Regions from separate parts of the Homo sapiens genome. Here region 1 is linked to region 2. Evidence: promoter capture Hi-C in human tissues and cell types (Jung and others, 2019). All regions are on one chromosome and are shown on one strand. The core of a region is centred on a gene start or on the middle of the fragment in contact, and the rest is flanking DNA. Distances in the headings are between cores, read along the strand shown.

Evidence for each region. Contacts are between HindIII fragments. The study calls those that stand out against the background at their distance.
Region 1: a fragment that was not itself captured here is called in contact with the fragment with the promoter of STARD4 in region 2 in 3 of the 25 tissues and cell types used here (dorsolateral prefrontal cortex, lymphoblastoid cells and mesendoderm cells).

The regions. Positions count from the first base shown.
Region 1 is chr5:112,141,953-112,145,072 of GRCh38, forward strand. It overlaps a transcript of EPB41L4A not described here. Among named protein-coding and RNA genes, the nearest start is that of EPB41L4A-AS1, 17 kb to the right of the region's middle. The HindIII fragment of the contact is 7,979 bases long and covers 1-3,120 here.
Region 2 is chr5:111,511,243-111,514,150 of GRCh38, forward strand. STARD4 (StAR related lipid transfer domain containing 4) reads right to left here and starts at 1,293. Exons shown (of 6, transcript NM_139164.3): 1 at 1,143-1,293. It overlaps STARD4-AS1 (STARD4 antisense RNA 1), which reads left to right and starts at 984. Exons shown (of 7, transcript NR_040093.1): 1 at 984-1,266. RefSeq lists enhancers at 928-1,137, 1,618-1,757 and a silencer at 1,168-1,537. The HindIII fragment of the contact is 5,039 bases long and covers 1-2,908 here.

The DNA of each region.
Region 1 (3,120 bases), core at 335-2,834, 630 kb after region 2:
GAAGAATAAATGTAACACTCAGACTTCCAAGTGAGACATGAAAGGAGGATTTGAGCCGAATTATTTTTGTAGAAGCACAATGTGGGGCATTTGCTTAAGGAGCAATACCAGACTCTCTGTGCCTTGTCTCTCTTCCCCATATTTTACCCTTTTGAGTTTCTTTGGAGAAGGCTGGCTCTGGGATATGCACAGAGCCTTATACACTAGGTTCTAAGACTCCTCAACTTAAATAATAGCCACTTACCACTACTCCTCTCCTTCGAATCCCACGGGATGGAGTTCCACTGTCCTGCAGCTCTCTTTCTTCTGTCTGTCGACAGCTTTCTTTTTAGTGTATAGATCCTTTCATTCACCATCTTCTGGCTTCCCATTTGTCTGAAGTCAAGTTCCTGTAAGCACCATTTAAGAACTTCCTAGGTACTGCAAGTTATTTTAGCTAGTCTTCTAAAATAGCATCTGGTAATTCAAATGATACTGTGCTACAAGATGAAAATATGAACTTCATTTTATTGTGGATACAAATATGAGCAAAAATGCTTATGGGTGTGGGTCAAGAATATACTCATGGAAAGTTAATACCTTTATTACAACAAAGAACTTTTTTATAATAACTTAGAAGTCATTCAAAAGTAATCTAAGAACAGATTTATTTTAGAAACTAATTACACTGTGACATCTGGACTGCACAGATCAATCAGCAATATTAGAAAGAAGTGTTGAAAGAGAATGAGATTTTCGGTCAGAAGATTAAGGCCCAAATCCTGTCTCTGCTGCTTTCTAGCTTTATGACCTTGAGTAAGTTTCTTAACTTTTGAAGTGTATGCACATAATACCTTTCATAATAGAATAGTTGTGTTCCCATTGTTTCCATGCCTTTCTATATCCACTCTCCTTGACTTTTCAGTTCCTCTCATTAAGAATAGAGACTATTTCCTCATTCCTTGAAACTGGGCCAAGAAAATGCTTCAGAAGTAGTTGCGTGCCAGTGCCAAGAGTGAGCCATGAGAGGATTCACATGCCTCCACTCACTCATTTGGCACCTGCTTGAAACTAGCTAGGGTTAGCCTGCTGGAGAGGCAATATCCACTCTTGTGTGCCCAGGTGACCAAACTCTACACCTATGAATGAGGCCACCCTAGACTAGTAAGTCCTAGAAATCTGCCAACTTACCGCAGACTCGTTAGCAAGCCCATTTATGATCACCTGAGCCTGGTCCAGACCACAGTTACCCAACCAAGACAAAGACTTGTGAGTTAAACAAATTATTGTTTCAAGCCACTCAGTTTCAGGGCAGTTAGTCATACAGTTATAGCAAACTGATACAGGTACTACATAGGTTGTTGTGAAGATTAAATGAAAAAAATATGTAATGCACTTACTGCAGTGCCTAACATATAGTAGATTCTTAATGGATTGTTGCTACTTTTATTATCATCATACCAAAATGATCTGTTTTTATGTTAATGAAGTAATAGTTCATGACAGTGCTTTTTCTAATATTTCTTTCTGAAGGCTGTATTAGTCAGGATATAAATGACAAATACAAATCAACTTAAATTTTAAAAGGAGTGGTTCATTAGCACTGATGTCAGACAGACTGAGATCCAGACCTCAATATCACCATTTCTCCCCTATCTTCCCTGTCTCTCTTTGTGTTGGCCTCATTCTTACTATTGCAGACAGGCTTTCTCTACAAGAGATAAAGTCAGCCATCCTCAGCTATTCTTCTAGTGCCAGGAACATAGAAGCAACAGCAATTTTCCCTATTGACTCCAATATAGAAAAGTCCCAGACAAGGGCTCCAATTGGCCCAGCTTGAGTCACGTGTTAATACCTGAACCAACCACAGCAGCCAAGGAGGTGGGGCTCTCTGTCCACATCACTTCATGTGCTGACCCTGTATAAACAGGGAGAAAGCAGAGTCTGCACTGAAGACATAGAAAAGAAGGGGGAAATGTGCTCAGTTGCCAAAGACAATACTACCAGAAGCCTGGAATAATAAATTATGCTATGGCCACCCTCCAATTCACCCCTTATTATCACTGGACTGGATCTTTGGACTTGAAGCCTATAGTCCACTAAGGCAGAAAATAAACTGCCTTCAGAAACAGAATTCAGGGCTCTGTGCCTACTTTTCTCCCTATAATCATTCCTTAAAATTATTTTAACCACCCTGATATGGAGCAGCCCTGGGAATATGAGGGAAATCAACCCAATAGATATGTACTTTTAAGGAAAAGCATTTTATTATACTTAACTTCCCATTCTTTTACCAACATACAAATATTCTTATTGCACTCTCATAGAGCTTTTGGTGTTCTAGACACTGAGATTTTATTTTATTTATTTTGAGACAGTGTCTCACCCTGTTGTCCAGACTGGAGTACAGTGGTGCAATCACGGCTCACTGCAACCTTGACCTCCCAGGGCTTAGATGATCCTCCCACCTCAGTTTCCCAAGTAGCTGGGACTACAGGTGTGTGCCACCACACTCAGCTAATTTTTTGTAGAGATGAGTTTTGCCAAGTTGCCCAGGCTGGTCTTGAACTCCTGGGCCCAAGCAATCTGCCAGCCTCAACTTCTTAAACTGATGGGATTACAAGTATGAGCCACCGCGCCTGGTCTTGGTTGGATACAGAGATTTTAGAGGCTTTACTGGCCATGGCTGAATTTACACCTAATCCTCAAAGATGATATCTTTTGTGAGCTGGATCGTAGGATTGTAGAGATAGAAGAAAACCTAGAGGTCATTTATATCTAAATTGGGTGAAAGTAGCAATGACATCCCAGGTGATAGACATTGGGGCCATGGGTGTTGCAATTGTTGCTACTGCTGTTATAGTTGAATGTGTGACATAAATGTCACATGTATGAATATGTAATCTTGTGCCCATGCCCCACTTGAGGTTATAGCACCTAGAATTGAAAAGAGGGTAGTCCAGCCTGCAGGAGAAGAGGGAGGGGATCCCCTCACTCCTTTGCCATGCCACACTTTTTAATCAATGAAACCTAAGTTAACATTAACTTTGTTTAAAAAAAGTAAGTTAATTCTGGCTGTGCGTGGTGGTGACTCATGCTTGTAATCCCGGCACTTTGGGAGGCCGAGGTGGGCGTATCACT
Region 2 (2,908 bases), core at 43-2,542:
AGTGAGCCAACTTACTGTTCAAACCCCTAATGCTCTAATACTTGATTAAAAAAAAAACCTAATGCTCTGTACTTGATTTTAAAAAATAACAATAACATTTATTGATCACTTACTACATGGTCAGTCCTTCTGGCTGCTTTACATTGCATTTATTTTATTTAATCCTCACAACAGTAATAGTCCTCCTTGAGAAAATGTGTTTCATTATGGTAAAGGAATTTTAGTTATTCAGAAGCTCTAGGATTGGTGTAAATGGGCATACTTTAGATATCTTGAGGTCTTCCATAAGTGAGAATAGTAGCTTAATGTCTATACATTTTCCCTGTTTTACAGAAAGGGAAAATAGCAACAGGAAGGTTGAGTCACTTGTCCAAGATCACACAGTTCATAAGTGATGGAGCCAGAATTCCAACCCAGGGCGTCTGACTTCAGAGCCTAAAGCTCTCTCTTGTAAAACTGTGGAAGCTGATCACAGGCTGGAAAAGACTTCATATAAAAAACCTGGGCCCACCAAATATTTGTCAAGTTTTGTCCTGGCTGCTGAACCTAAAAATCTAAGGTAATCTTTCTCAAGTGTAAATTCGGGAAAACAATGACACTGATTTGGTGAGAAATTATTTGAGTTAATACATTTAGCAGGGACCTTGGAAGGCAGTAAGCCCTGGGAAAACTTTGTCTCTTGTCTTTGGCATCACCTCCGCGAAGCCTGGTGGGACGCGGCTGCCCCTGCGCTGTCTGTGCACCTCCTAAGAACCAGGAAGCGCGGTGACCTCCAAAGAACAGGACTGTCCCAAATCAAGCGGGATTACCACCGCCCCTCTCCCATTTAACAGCTGAGGACACTGAGGTCTAATGGATTCCAAGTACTTAAATAGGTGAGCGGCGCGCAGGGGCGAGTTGCAAGCCCTGGGATCCTTCCAGCTCGCCGCTTCCCCTCCCAGGGGCTCAGGTTTCTCTTTCATCTGTGAGGTCCTCTCCCGCCCGGACGCCGGGGCCCGCCATCCCCAACGTCCACCGCGAGCTCCCCAGATCCATGGTCTGGAGCAGGTCCAGAAGACGCACCTGGCAGGACGCCCCGGGCGCCACAGTCGCCCTCCACACGGGCCACCCCAATCCTGCCGCGGCTCCGTGGCTCTCCTTACCTTTACCTGAGGTGAAGCAAGGACGTGGAAGCAGCTACGGCGCGCTACCAAGCACCTCACACCGCTCTCAACAGTACTGCTCAGCCTCCCGGCCCGCCGATGCGCAGGCGACAGCAGCCAACTTGTAAGTCACCGCTGGTCGCAGCCAACTGGAAGGCACCCAGCGCCTCAGGGCAAGGCGGGCCGAGCCCCCAGCCCCGCCCCCTGGCCCGATCCCGGGGGCTCCGGGGAGGGGGGGCTGAGAGGAGGTGGCCGGAACAACGTGCGCTTGTTCGGATTGGCTGGCGCGGGAGCGTGTGGAGGGCTGATTGGTGGCCGATAAATGGAATGATTCCGCGTGGGTGTGGGCTGGCCCGAGCCGCGCCAGGGTTCCCTGGATGTCTGGGGTTGCCTGCAGGTTTGGATTGGTTGGGTTGGGTTGTCCTGTGATCACTTAATTGTGAAAGAATTTTGTCAAGCAGTAAACCGACTGGGAGAAATTGAAACAGAAGGCGAAGTGAAGGATCACAGTGAGGGATAAGGTCCAAATTCATCCCGCTTGTGGATATCCTAGTATCTCGCAACTACGCTACTCCTCCCAGGACTAAAAGTCAAATAAGAAAAAGCGCCCATGCAGAGGAGGACGAGCTCTCTGCCTCCTGCTTAGCCTGACTCAGAACTGAGAGAGCTGGGAAGGAAAATGCATATAAACGAAAGTCCCTGCCACTATGTGAATTGACCTTTAGCCAAATACGTTTGTGTGTGTGTGGGTGTGGGTGTGTGTGGGTGCGTGTGTGTGTTTCCATCCTCAGATAAAGAGTTTAGAGGGCAACCTTAGAAGCAGAGAAAAGGAGGAGGTGTGACAAGTGGATTTAGCAACTGCACAGTTTTGGAGTTTCCATCTACTCGAACATGAGAAAGATTTCTTCCAGTGGCTGTGAAGTCACCCATCTGATGGGATGCTTGGCAAACAGTGAATTTCTTCCTTTACCAGAGTAGCCATGATGCACTGATTAGCGAGGCTTGGTTTGTCTGCAAATTGCGTTTACTAAGATACGTAGTTTGAGAACCAAAAGCAGGGAAGAATGCAGTGCTACACCATTAGTGATTTCTGATAGACTTGCAATGAAAATAAATAATATTTCGTAAATTTTTAAGTCGGCCTCACCAAAAGAATTACCAAATACTACTTGCTAGTTATTATTGGCCGATTTATTTTTTACCTCCATCGTTTATATGTAAAATAATTTGTTTTATATTTATATTTATAATTTCGTGTGACATAATAGAAGAGTTCTTCGTGTGTTGTAAAGCTCCTTTCACTTAGGAATTATTGGCCAATTATTGAGGTGCTTTGGATGGATGGATGAATACGTAGATAAATAATTTGAAATGGTTGGGGAAAAGTGCTTTGTAATTAAGTTGTACCTACTTAATTCAATTACATTGAATCCTCTTAACAGCCCCCTAAGGTAGGTGTGTTTTACAGGCGAGGAGCCCCAGACATAAATCTTAAGGCAGGTTGCTTAATTACTGAGTGGAGAAACTGGAATTTGGCTGAGGTCTGCTGGACTCTGAAACTGGGCTCTTAGTCTCCATAAAATTCAGATGGTGCTTGGTAGCTCTTTGTCAAGGCACCTGTGAAGACCACTGGGACCATAAATGAAAGGCCTAATTCCTACTGTGAGGGTTTACACAGGTTTAATGGTGGAGAGGAATAAATCCACGTATCTATTTCAAAAAAGTAAAAAAGTTGTATCTGTCATTATTAGGATTCAGTTCTGGAT